Linked DNA regions of Homo sapiens: region 2 is linked to region 1. Evidence: promoter capture Hi-C in 16 types of primary human blood cells and fetal thymus (Javierre and others, 2016). All regions are on one chromosome and are shown on one strand. Each heading gives the region's core, a stretch centred on a gene start or on the middle of the fragment in contact. The rest is flanking DNA. Distances are from core to core; before and after follow the strand shown.

Region 1 (7,383 bases), core at 2,112-4,611:
CTGTGTCTGTGTGTGTGCCACTGAGAAGAAGAGGACAATACAATTTTTCATTTTTATTTTCCATGTTTCTACATTATTTAATTTTTTTCAATGAGTATAAATTACTTTTATAATAATTAACATTTATTTTTAGAAAGATAAGAATTCAAGCCAAGGTCATTACAAGGAAGTACCTACAAAAAAGGCTGAAGAGGTCACACTCTTGGATAGTCCTCACTTGGGTAAAACCTCATTCCTATGTCTGAAAATTTGTCCTGAGGCCAAAAGGAAAGAGTGCCCTTCATGGAATGGAATACTCAGAGGCTGTTTGGGGTTACTTTATACCTTATAGACCACAGTAATTCAGCTCTTATCTACTTTTCCTAACCCTTTCCCCCTTCCATGATTCCTACCTACATCTCATTGTAGACTTGGAAGGACAGGAACTACCTTGCTGGTCCTTGGGTTCTCTGAAGTGCCTAGCGTGGTCCCGTACATAATGATCATTCACTGTTTGCTTAATTGACATTCTGAGGTTAAAGAATTGGTATCCAACAGATAAATGAACAGCATCCAGGGACGATTGTTTCCTTTGGTCTTTCCGTTCACTCATATTTTCACTTTTGCTTTACTTATTTCTCTCCCCTCCATTAGGATCAAGTGTTACCTATGGCAACCTGGTTTTGGTGTTTGTTGTCTCCAATACTTCTTAGTTCTATTGAAGGCCCAATAGATGCATTAAATCTCTATTGACAGCTAGAGACAACAAAGCTTAGTGCAAAAAGCATGGGTTTTGGAGGCAAATAGACATTCAAATTATGGCTCTGTAATTTACTAGCTGTTAGATTTGGGACAAAGTCCATACCTTATTCAAGCCCCAGTGTTTTAATTTGTGATCACAGAAACTAATTTTAAGTTATGTGAGAATTAAATAATATATGTAAAATGCCTGGCACTTAGTTGGAGCTTAAACACTAACTCTTCCCAGCTTACCCCAGTTCCCCCACCTATCCTATCTTCATGTGCAAGCATTCTCAAATGCTTTCATCTGGTCATAGGTCAAATGCTTTTCACAGGCTCTTTAACTTCTTCAGGACATTGGGGTACCTATCTGGATTGCTATACCATTCAATTTCTGACAGAGTAGCTTTGAAGGAGAGCTAAGAATGAAACAGACTTAGGAAATTTCATACTGAGGGTCAGAAATAAGGAAAGGGGAAAGCTGTACCACATGTTTGAGTCATTCTGTTAGAGATGTAGTTACAATCTCAAACCCACTCCATTGCTGAAACCCTGAGATAAGTTGCCAATGCCTCTACTTCTGGCCCTTCTGGTAGCTGCAATGGACTCTTGTTCACAGTTGACTTCAAACAGTGATTTACCATTTATATTATTTATCATTTATTTATAGTGTGCACACTAGTATGTACCAGACATCATCATGGGTGCTTAATCATGATCTGCAACTTATGAGAGCCTTTCAAGGTGAAGTTCCTCTATAGGTGGAAAAAAAAAGGTAGCCATTCCCCTACTCATCCACATCCCCACATCCTTCCTCCCTTCCTTCTAATCTCCTTATTCCCCTAAAACAATATTCTGGACTTGAGCTAATGTGAAATTCTGATAATCTACACCATGGCATAAGATGGCAGTCATATTTTTATATGCATGGTGGTTTATATTTCTGTCTGGACATGCATGTTTATTGCTCCTGACAGGATGGTAAATGGGTATAGTCATAATTGGAACTGTTCCCTTTGCAGCTCATCCTCAGTAGGATAAAACTAGTTCTTGATCCTCAACCAAACTTTTCAGAAAGTACTCCATAAGTTACAAAATAAAGAGATCTTCTGAGAAACTACTTAGGCTATGGCATTTGACTCATTTTTTACTGCACAATTTGCATTCATTTATTCTCATATATTTTGTTGATAACATTCTGCCCATTAATATTATTTGCATTGTTAATACTGATGATTTGTTTTTACTTAACTTCTCACTTTTATCGTTTGAGCACAGTATATTTTGGTGTTTTTTTTCCCCTTGAGATCATTGAATGAAATCCTGGATTCTTACCTTTTCATATGATTCTTGTTTTATTTTGCTGTTATTATTAGCTTTCCATGTGGCAGGTATTAAAATCTTTATATTTCTGAAAAATACTCTTCTCTTGGTAGCATTAAATAGGTAAAATGAAGCTTCAGTTATCATTTCCTACAGCCAGACAAAAGAAAAACTTACTTTACCACTTGTAAATCCTGTATGTTTTGGTTTTCTGGTATGCTTAAACAGTAATAAAAGACAATGAAATATTTTGAAGAGACCCATTTCTTTTAGAGAAAGCCCTAGACTTTGGGAAAACATAGGAGCAAATTTTTAAAAAAACTTTAAATGATTATATGGAAGATTTTAGGACACTAATTATATGTCTGTGCTTGCCTTCATAGTTTTCCCAATTTTGAGAAAGGCTTTTAAGCTTTTGTGGAACAAATCCTTTTCATGTCACACCTGTGGGCACATTCAAGACCACACCTTATGATGCTACTGATTTCACTAAAGCAATACTAAATGGAGGCTCTTACATCATAGAGCTATGATCCTCCCTTGCCATATTAAAGTAAAAATAGTCAATTATGTTACAGCACATTCAAGTGAAAAGAAATAATTTTGCTTTTTGGCCCACCGTGCAGACTCTCACCCTTTCTGCCTGAGAATTCTCACCCTCAGGATGGAATCTAGCAATATGATTTTAACAAGCATGCTCATTATCATGCTTATTCATCAGTTAAATATTCAATCTTTGTTGCCACAATGGGTTGTTATTTTTCTAAGTTGCTACCCCAAAAACAGTCATGTAGGAAAACAAAAGAGCTGAAATTAGTAGCAACCAACAATAACAAAATAGAGGGCTAGATCAACACTCTGTGAGCTGAGACTACACAGAATTAGATGAACAAACTGGCTTAGTTAGCCATAATCATAACGTTGTGGCGCTATCTTTTAAAAATGCTGTTCTCTGTATTACTCAAATACAAACCAGGCAGGGTAGTTAGCTTCTAAATAAGGCTACAGGTCTGATCAAATGGGATGCTAGTATCAATTTCATAATTTCCACTCACCTTAATGTTTGAGATGAGGTTCTGATTCTCAGGTACCTGAGGATTAATTGCAATGAGCAATCCATTATACCCATTGTCTTGAAGCTGTACTCCAGCTCCCAGGAATGGGAGTTCTGAACTTAAGGCAACCAGGAGAGTCACAAACTTCAGGTTGCAAATAGGACCTGCAATGCTCCTTTGGGTCATGTTGTAGAGAAGCCTCCAGTTCACTCACACTGAGCCTGCTGCATACATTGTGTCAGGTTTTCAATATGGATGCAGATGGTTTCTTCCTGAACTTGCAAGGTTTTAGAACACAAGATGAAGGAGGTGTCTTCTTTGAAAAGTCTGGGGTGGATCCATCTGGGACCTGCCTCTACAAGTCCTTTTCCTCCAGGCAATGCTACACTTGCCTGTTCTGTGGCTGAGCTGCCTCCTGAATCATGGTTGGGCAAGAAACATTCTGCCCTTCATTCATTTTATAACTTTTCAGAAAGAAGAGGGAAATAAGACCAAAGGAGCTTAAAAGCAGGAAATATGGGCTGGAAATCAGTATATCTGGACTGTTCAATCCACTTGCAGTAGAAACACAGAAGTCTATAGTGATTTTCCTCTCCTCATTTTTCATAACCTCCTCCATCAGTTGGCACAAGTACTTTCTACTGCCCTCAAGTCATTTTTCATTTGTTGCAAGATTTCCTTGCCTGTTTATTTTGAAGATTTAGAAATCCATTCTGCAGCCCAGTCCCTACAGCCCTTGGGTCAGATAGTCTGGGCAAGCTCTCAGCTGATGGCTGGAGGTCAGATATCAGATATCCCCCAGAGAGGGCCAACTGCCAGGAACTTGGGTGCCTGTGCAGCCCTTTCCCTCTGGCCTTGCTACCTTTTCTCTCTGCCTCAGGAAGAAGAATAGATTTCTCCTTCAGCTCTCTCCTAAGGGCAAGGCCCTGCTTCAGTCAACCCTCCATTTCTCCAGGACCAAAAACAGGATCTAATATATAGTAACCATCGCAAATATTTTATGACTGATTCATAATACCTGATATTTACCTCATGCTTTAAAGTTTACAAATGAACTCATTTAAATATCAATACTCTGATGCAGGTATAATTTGTACTTTTCAAATGAAAATAATGAGTCTTGGAAATTCTGATTATGAAAATTAGCCAATGAGAGAAGAAACTAACATTTTTTGAGTGATGGATTTTATTATGCCTATTTTATGGGTGACAGAACTAATGTTCAAAAAAATCTAAGTAACTTGTTCAAGGTTGGGAGTATTATCATCGTACTAGAATGAACCAACTGACTCCAAATTCCACTGTTTTTCAATATATCATGTTCTCTCTTAGTTACTAAATTATCTTAGTAACCTCGTTTCTCCCTCTTCTTTGTGTTTAAGAATGCCGCACAGTGACATCTATTGTAAAACTAAAGAAAAAGTTTTATTCACAGCGTCAGAGGTCCACAGCAAGCAAAACCTGTGACTCTTCCCTGCTGTGGCCCCGTCTCGGAACATTTCTGGGGAGGGGAGTGTAGCATTTAGGAAACGGTCTGTCCCTGCTCTCAACAGGGATTTCACCAACATTGTCTGTTTTCAACATCTTCATGGGCAGTGTGATGTCACTCTTCTTCCCAGCAAGGTTGGAGTCTTCTGAACTTGGGCTTTGATATTGCACTGCAATGTTGACAGATGTTGAGGGAATTTTTTTCCCCTTGCTGTCTTGCTTGAATCATTTTCTCATGCTTCTTCTCACCTGCTTTTCCTTCAAATTCCAGCTGTGTCCTGGAAGCCTGGCCTGAGCTCCATAACTAAGTCAAATTCCCTTCTTTCATGCTTCCATAGCATCAGATAACTCACCTTTGCAGTATGATCATGGTAACAATGTCAAATTTATATTGTATAATTGATTGTCAGCTTCCTGCTGTATGAAGGAAGGGATGGAGTCTGTTTTCATTCAGTACTTCCCCAGCACCTATCTCAGTAAACTCTCTGTTGAATGACTGAATGAATGGAGTCAGGAGAAGTAAATAAAACAAGATAGTGAAGGAGCCCCGGGTTATAGTGTAAAAATTCTTTCCCCCACCCTTGTTTTCTAGAAGGCATCTCCTCTGTTCTAGAGCAGTTTCCCTCTTGCTCCCTCTTGACAGGCAGTGCTTGAGTATGGTGCTCTCCTTGAAGAATGGGATGGCGCTGGTCATTACGTGGCTGCCCAAGGGTCTTACCCTAAAGTTCAAAGGTCAGCTTAGCTGCCTTTTCTCCCAAACTGAATTCCCAGCCCTAGTTTTTTTCTGCTTGTTCACTGTGTCTTCAGAGTAGAAGGCCAGAGGTGTGGCAGCTCCAAAGGCTCTGTCTGTAAATGTGACTCATTGAGCAGAACAATGCACTTCATTTCAAATATCCCTGGCAGTTTATTTTCTTATGCCAACCTCTTGTGATTTTAAGAATACAAATATTCCCATCGATAAACCAATATGCTCAAAAACTAAACTCGTAAGCACACTGCAAGAGCGGCTTTTTGCCAACACTCAGGGAAGTTTTTCATGACACTTGTATAGGTTGTTTGCTATGGGAGGGAGTGATTGAGGACTGATATTCAGCACTCTCTCCACTTGTTTTTATCATTACTATGGTTCCCTTGGGATGTGAGGGTGGAAAATATTGGCTAGAGAGTGCATGCAACTTTATAAAGAACAGCTACAAATGAACAATTTTGTCCAGCTTCACTTGGGTTGAAACCTGAACAAGCTCACTCAGGCTTTGCTTAGCCCGGGTTGAGAGTCTAGGCATGATATCTACTCTTATCTATCTGATTTTTTTTAAACGTCTAATTCAGAGCCCTTTTTGTTATCAGCAACCAGGCCTGGGACCGGGCCAGCTGAAGGTCTCTTTTTACTGCCTTCTTCTTTCATCAGGCTGACCTTACAGCCTGAAAAGGTGGAGAAAATGAAATTGAGTAAAGGAATTAGAAATTATACTGAGCACAGCATCTTTTTGTGAAGTGTGACTTCGTCAATAAAGTGAACTTTTTATCCTTTCATTAAACAAAAATTAACTGGTCATAGCCATAGATTTTAGATTTTATAATATCTGAGAAAGGAAATATACCTAAAGGAAAAGAAAGGAGGAATACAGTTTTTAAGTGTTTATTTCAATGTTATATAAACTCTAGGAATCTGCTTTGCTTTTATTCTGCTTTCAAGAAAATAAGAGTTATTCAATTTCAGTAACTGAAGAATCTAAAGCACATCTTTGTTCATTGTCTGACTCTGTAGTTCAACCTGGCCCCAGAAGGGCCTGTCTATTTTTTTCATGGAGTCAGCTGGTATAGACCCACAGTCTAAGTGAATAAAACATCCAATTGGTGTCAGAGAAGTCAGGAGATTTGACATTTTGGGGAAATCAAAGAAAATTTTGGATTAGTTCCTCTCAGGCTTTGGTTTCAACAATCCCATTTAGAAGAGGAAAGTGTAGTACACTGTACGGTTGGGCTACACAGCTCATGGGCCACGTTAGTTTATGTAATCCCTGTGAAATAAATCAGAAAAGAAGAGAGACAAATTGTCAAGACTAAGAATTTAAACAAAACACAGTTTGCCAAGGGCCCAGATGGTACATTTCCTACCTCCTTTATCCAATTTCCTTCAAATTTAGACTCATTTTCAAAGCAAAGGAACAAAGTGGATGGTCCAGATAGGGTCTGGGAAGCCATTTGTATTGTCAAATCACCACCATGTCAAAGCATGGAGATCAAGCGCAAAGGTGAAACACAATGAAACATAAACTCAGAATTGAGCATGTCAGGATAAGCCAGTTGGTTTCAGAGATAGCTGCTTGAGAACCTGATGGTGAAAAGATTCCAAAGTTGAACAAAACAGAGACTGTCTCACATTGCAGAAGGAGGCACTGAGTTTGGATATTGTAAAGACACTCTCGGCAATAAAGGCTTATGGGCACCGGTCATTATTAGAAACAATCTCTCATGTTTGTATGGTGCTTTGCACTTTTCAAAGCCCTTCTTAATCATACTGTATCTCATGAGTCACAGGAACTTATAAATTCTGCTTCTGTGGAAATTAAAGAATAGTAAGAGTAGTTATCTTCTTAAAGGACCATTTAGGTGAGATCTGTCTTGGACACAAGGTTAAGATTTAGCTCACAGGTTCTCTAAAATTTATTCCATGCATATCAGTAGAGTGTACTGTGGAATGTAAAGAATGGGAGATACTGGTTTTATTCACTTGCTATAGGATCCAAGTCACATCACCTAAACTCTTGTGGCTTGGTTTTGTCACCTTCAAAAT
Region 2 (7,064 bases), core at 759-3,258, 88 kb before region 1:
GAGAAAGGAAAAAAAATGAAGATATTTTCTTGGTACAAGTGTGTACATGTACAAACATGTTTTTAACAAAAGAAGGAGGAAATACTCATGACAATTACAGTCCTCGTTTCTACAGCTGGTCCTGTCGTGGTAGCTGATACCAATGACTACCTTGTTCTACTACCCATTTTGTATCCCATTTGCCTTCAGCAAGCACCTCAGGCGGCCATGTTTTTTCCCTGTTGGAGTGACCCAACCCTTCATTCCTGAAGGGCCTGGATCATTCGTAGTCCTGCCTGGATTGGGCTGTTGTAGTTTCCCATTACCTTAATCACAGGGCATGGTAATACTAAGAGACACCCTAATGGATCTCCTGTATTCCATTCATATTCTTCCTTACCTCCATTGTGGAGTAGTAGACTAATTTCATCTTGATAGTCCGGGTCAATCACCCCAGCCAACACTGTAATTCCATTCTTAGCCTGTTGACTTAAAGGGAGGAGAAGCCCAAAGTGTCCAGGTGGCAATCTTAACTTCCAGTATAATGGATCGTTGTGTCTCCTGGTGGCAGCATTCCTCCCTCTGGAACTAAGACCTCCAGGCAAGCAGAACATAATGTCATGGGACAAGGAAGCAAAAATTTTGCTAGTGAATCACTAGGGGTGATGGTGAGTGGTGCTACTTCTACTTCCACCCCTTGATTCCTGGACCCATGAATCCTGGCTATGGGAGAAACAGTACCATATACTGGACGCTGATTCAGAACGTCCATGGCCTTCTGGAGAACTGTGCCTCAGCCCTGCAAAATATTGTCACCTAGTTGGCTTTGTAATTGTGACTTCAAAAGGCCATTGCACCGTTCTATCAATCCAGCTGCTTCAGAATGTTGGGGAACATGGTAAGACCAGTGAATTTCATGAGCATGAGCCCACTGCCACACTTCTTTGGCCATAAAATGAGTGCCTTCATCAGAGGCAATGCTGTATGGAATCCATGATGGTAAATAAGGCATTCTGTGAGTCCACGGATGTAGTCTTGGCAAAAGCCGTTTGTGTAGGATAGGCAAACCCATATCCAGAGTAAGTGTCTATTCCGGATAGACACTTATTCTATCCAGTGAGGAAAAACCTCTGCTCTTTCCATGATAAAAGAGGTCCAATATAATCAATCTGCCACCAGGTAGCTGGCTGATCACCCCAAGGAATGGTGCCATATGGAGGGCTCAGTGTGGGTCTCTTCTGCTGACAAATTGGGCACTCAGCAGTGGCCATAGCCAGGTCAGCCTTGGTGAATGGAAGTCCATGTTGCTGAGCCCATGAGTAACCTCCATCCCTGCCACCATGGCCACTTTGTTCATGGATCCATTGGGCGATGACAGAGGTGGCTGGGGAAAGAGGCTGAGTGGTGTCCACAGAATGGGTCACCGGGTCCACTTGATTATTAAAATCCTCCTCTGCAGAGGTCACCCGTTGGTGAGCACTCACATGGGATACAAATACCTTCACAGTTTTTGACCACTCAGAGAGCTCCATCCACATGCCTCTTCCCCAAATTTCTTTGTCACCAATTTTCCAATCATGCTTCTTCCAAGTCCCTGACCATCCAGCCAAACCATTGGCTACAGCCCATGAATCAGTATATAATTGCACATCTGGCCATTTCTAATTTCATGCAAAGTGCACAGCCAGGTGCACTGCTGGAAGTTCTGCCTACTGGGAAGATTTCCCTTCATTGCTGTCTTTCAAGGATGTCCTAGAGAGGGGCTGTATTGCTACAGCTGTCCACTTTCGGGTGGTTTCTGTGTATCTTGCAGAACCATCTGTGAACCAGGCCCTAGTCTTCTCTTCCTCTGTAAGTTGACCATAGGGAACTCCCCATGAGGCCATTGGTGCAGGCTGAAGAAGAGAAGGCAGGGTGGCAGGAGCAGAGACCATGGGCATTTGAGCCACTTCCTCATGTAACTTACTTGTGCCTTCAGGACCTGCTTGAGCCAGATCACATTATATACCACTTCCATTTGATGATGGAATGCTGCTGTGCACACCCCACTTTATAACTAGATGGATCAGAAAGCACCCAGGTCATGATAGGCAGTTCAGGGAGCATGGTGACTTCATGACCCATAGTCAAATATTCAGTTTCCACCAAAGCCCAGTAACAGGCCAAGAGCTGTCTCTCAAAAGGAGAGTAGTTATCTGCAGAAGATGGCAGGGCCTTGCTCCAAAATCCTAGCTGTGATTCACCTATGGGGACCTGCCAAAGGCTCCAAACAGTATCCCTATCTGCCACTGACACCTCAAGCACCATTGGATTTGCTGGGTCATATGGCCCAAGTGGCAGAGCAGCTTGCACAGCAGCCTGGATTTGTTGCAGAGCCTTCTGTTCTGGACCCCCCTCAAAACTGGCAGTCTTTTGGGTCAGTTGATAAATGAGCCGGAGCAACACAGAAGACATACAAATAGTCAATAATACATGAAAAAAATGTTCAACGTCACTAATTACTGGGGAAATGCAAATTAAAACCACAGTGAGATATAACTTAACACCTATCAGAATGGCAATTATAATAAAGACAAAAAATAGTTGTTGGCAAGGATGTAGAGAATAGGGAACCTAGTATACTGTTGGTGGGAATGTAAGCTAAGACAGCCATTAGGGAAAACAGTATAGAGGTCTCTCAAAAGACTAAATTATCATATAATCCACAAATCCTCTTCTGGGTATATATCCAAAAGTTTTAAAATCACTATGTTGAAGAAATATTTGTACTTCCATGTTCATTACAGCATCAGTCACAATAGCCAAGTTATGGAATCAATCTTAGTGTCCATCCATATATAGAACATTTTCTTTATCCATCTGTTTGGATGAATGTATGTGTATCTGTATATGCATACATATACAGGTGTATATATTATATATATATATATAATACACACACACACACACACACACACACACACACACACACACCCTATGTATCTATCTATATATTCACACAATAGAATACTATTCAGCCTTAAAAAAATAGATTATGTTGTGACATGGATGAACCAGAAGGACATTTTTCTAAGTGAAATAAGCCAGATACAAAAGACAAATGCCATATGTTCTCACTTATACGTGGAAGCTAAAAAAATTGAATACATAGAAGCAGAGAGTAGAATGGGTATTAACAGAGGCTGGAGAGTTAGGGGAATGGGGAGATGTTGGTCAAAGTATATAATGTTTCAGCCAGACAGGAGGCATAAATGATAAGAATTTGAAGTGACGGATTTCTTAATTAACTGGATTCAATCATTCCATATTGTGTGTACATATATATATATATATATATATATATATATATATGAAAGAATCATTTTGTACCTCATAAAATATATACAATTATAACTTGCCAATATCCAACAAAAAATTAATTAAAAAATAATTCAATCCCTAGAGGAATTCCAGAGTATACCTGGAAGCAGATTTTGCCCAGCATGACTAATTCCGAGATGTAGTAATATTTGGAGAAACAGAGGTTCGATTAGGGTTATTTTGCTTCATTTCTTTCTCTTGCTTTTCTCTTCTCTTCTTATTTTATACATATACCCAGACATCATGAAAGTAAAAGGATCACTTTCTCTGGCAGATACCACATGTGGATTAGGTATGCAAAGCATGAGTTCCTATAATATGTGCTTCCCCTGAAATAGACCCTACATACTGTGCATTGCTTTGTTTGTTTGTTTTTAACTTTTATTTTAGGTTTGGGGGTACATGTGAAGGTTTATTACATAGGTAAACTTGTGTCATGAGGGTTTGTTGTACAGATTATTTCATCACCCAGGTATAAAGATCAGAGGACAATAGTTATTTTTTCTTCTCCTCTCCCTCCTCCCACCCTCCATCCTCAAGTAGACCACAGTGTTTGTTGTTCTCTACTTTATGTTCATGAGTTCTCATCATTTAGCTCCCACTTATAAGTGAGAACATGTGGTCTTTGGTTTTCTGTTCCTGCATTAGTTTGCTAAGGATAATAGCCTCCAACTCCATCCATGTTCCCACAAAAGACAGGATCTTGTTCTTTTTTATGGCTGCATAGTATTCCATGGTGTATATGCACCACATTTTCTTTATCCAATCTATAATTGATGGGAATTTATGTGGATTCCATGTCTTTGGTATTGTGATTAGTGATGCAGTTAACATTCATATGCGTGTGTCTCTATGATAGAATGATTTCTATTTCTCTGAGTAAATACCCAGTAATGGGTTTGCTGGGTCAAATGTAGTTCTGCTTTTAGCTCTTTGAGGAATCACCATACTGCTTTCCACAATGGTTGAACTAATTTACACTCCCACCAACAGCATATAAGTGTCCCCTTTCCTCTGCAACTTTGCCAGCGTCTGTTATTTTTTGACTTTTTAAAAATAGCCATTCTGACTGGTGTGAGGTGGTATCTCATTGTGGTTTTGATTTACGTTTCTCTAATAATTAGTGATGTTGGACATTTTTTCATGTGCTTGTTGGCTGCATGTATGTCTTCTTTTGAGAAGTGTCTGTTTATGTTCTTTGCCCTCTTTTTAATGGGGTTGTTTTTGTCTTGTAAATTTAAGCTCCTTATAGATCTGCGCATTGTTAAGTGCCTGTTCGCTTGATAGTACTTTAGTTGGCAGAAACCATGTAGCTCATTACCCATTGTAATCTTAGTGTCTAACATGGGACTTGGGATACAATGTGGGTACTTTAAAAGTATTTGCTGAATAGATAAATGAATGTCTCAAGCACACAGACAACATGCTTAATGCAAAGCTAAAGGATTTCAGGGCAGGTGTCTTAAGAGGTGGAAGTTGAAGGAATTGTCAAAGGAGGACTTGAAGTGACATCCCAAGGCATATAGGGGCCATATAAAGAAAAAGATAATGGACCAGGTAAAAAGAAACAATCAAGTGATGGGAGTCATCATGAAATTACAACGTCAGTTCAGTGGGATAGGAAGTGAACAGCACAGAGGGTTAGGAGGTTGTGTCCAGAATAGGATACTGGATTTTAAGATTTCACAGGTGCGGTTGTTTCAGGTCATTACTAGGTCAAAATGTGGCCTTAGCAAGACTTGCTCAAACCATATGCAATTGCCAATATTCGAATTTTTTACTTATAAAAATACACTTTTATTATTCAAACCAATAGTTTGTTCAATTTTAGTGGAGGTGGGGTGACGATCAAGGAATTTTGAGGCTGAGATATGAACTGACTCATTCATATAGATTCTGAGACCACTCAGAGTGATTTTAAGAGGTGAGGGGGGAAGAGTGTTGTGCCTAACTTGGGTGAGTGTGGTAGATAACAGTGAAGAGAAGGGATTAAAAAACAGCATAGATCAATGACATAGGATGGAAGCTTTAAACAAACCACATTAGATCATAGGGGTAACAGCCTAGCTTGGAAGTTGCAAAGGGGAGCTTGGAGAATATTTCTCCCTACGCTCTTTTGATGCTGGATACTTGGATATTAAGAGAAGTACCAACATCTGGAACAGATTTACCAGATTTACTCACTCACTTAATTGACTTATCAGAGGCTAAGGCCATTGTGGGTCAATGATGGCATAAGGCAAAAATTTGGCTTATTTTATCACCTATGACAATACAGATCCATTTCGCAATAAACTTTCCTATAACCCAGAGTACATAAGAATGTTTTTTCTTTGTTGTTCTCTACTTTCTATCTTATCTATATGTTAACATTTACCTCTTCTTCTCCAAAGTCACATGGTATGCATCTCTGGTTTACTACCATATCCCATGCTACATTTTACTGAGTTCACCCAAATGGGAAATTAAAATCTCAGTGAGTGACTTATTGAAAAATTTCCAGGCGAAATCCATGGTAACCATGTTCTACGAAGTTGGGACCTCAGTCTCATTTGTCACAAAGTGGCCTTCTCATCAGCTAAGTGCTTGGTTTGGTTTTGTAACATTTAGAAAAGGACTCCAAACTGACCCTTGCAGAGCTTATAGCTTGCAGTGAACGCCAAGAATGAGTTCTCAGACGATTCTAGCTGAGCGGAGCGGGGGACCACCCTTCTGAGAGAGAGTGTCACCCCAGAATCCATCCGCCAAGTATTTATTGAAAGGGCTTGTTAAACTACAAACATCCACTAGATGGCCTCTTGAGGTCGGGTCGTGAGGCACTTATGGCCTTATAAAAGCACTCAAACCACATTCTCAGGAGGCTGTTTTCAGCCTTCCTTATGACACGCTCCACTCCTTGTCCTGTTTTCAGGGTCAAGGAGTTACATTTCCATGCACAAATAACATACACACAGTGCCTCCGTCTTTTTCCATGCCCCTACCTCAAATGCCTTGTACACAAGCTTGAATGTGTTGCCATGCACCCCCGACGTCTCCCCCTTCTTTAATTCTTAGAGCGTGCTGGTCATCCAATGCAAGGTAAACTTCTATCGTTCTTCCCTGGTTGTCGACGCGCTGGGTAGCAGCACAGAGCCATCTGCAGATGTCTAGCAAACAGATACAAGAAAGAATAACTATAGCGGCCATCACCCAGATGCGCATGTTTAACCCAGACAACCAAGTGTTTGGGTTTAACCATTGAAAGCCTTCTTGAAATTGCTGAAGGGTACTTGTTTGTGATTGCTGTGACCTTTCTTCAAGTTGTTTCTTCAACTCACACTTAGGAGTAGAAACTTGAGAAGACAAATGGTCGCGATAAGCCCCTTGCAGATGTGTGTTCACTCTCTCCCAAGCATATTGGGAGCTATTATACGGCAGAAGTGTGACACAGATAGAATTATATTGCCAATCACAATGTAAATTTTGACAGGTAATGAATGCCTGCTGCTGATTCCCTAGCTATTTAACAGTGGCTTTAAGAGCCTCCAGGTGAGGCAGAATAGTTTTATCAATATTTACCTGTTCTTGAAATTCATGGGTTACATTATATGCAGTGTGGTTCACCACTGAGGCTGCGTGAATAGATTGTGTCAGAGAAACAGCCACAGTAGCGGCAGTTGCTAATATAATAATAGCTGAGACTAAAAAGGCAATTAAAGTGGCCAGAAATCTTTTTTTCTGAGTAT

Evidence for each region. Contacts are between HindIII fragments. The CHiCAGO score rates a contact against its expected background, and 5 or more counts as called.
Region 2: a fragment that was not itself captured here is called in contact with the fragment with the promoter of CLCA2 in region 1 in 1 of 17 cell types (naive CD4 T cells); the score reaches 6.0 in naive CD4 T cells.

The regions. Positions count from the first base shown.
Region 1 is chr1:86,420,149-86,427,531 of GRCh38, reverse strand. It overlaps CLCA2 (chloride channel accessory 2), which reads right to left and starts at 3,361. Exons shown (of 14, transcript NM_006536.7): 1 at 3,099-3,361; 2 at 2,056-2,193. The coding sequence starts at 3,284. The HindIII fragment of the contact is 7,161 bases long and covers 2,458-7,383 here.
Region 2 is chr1:86,507,253-86,514,316 of GRCh38, reverse strand. The region is part of intron 1 of LOC124904210 (a long non-coding RNA gene); the gene reads left to right. Among named protein-coding and RNA genes, the nearest start is that of CLCA4, 36 kb to the left of the region's middle. RefSeq lists an enhancer at 6,029-6,530. The HindIII fragment of the contact is 6,719 bases long and covers 1-5,367 here.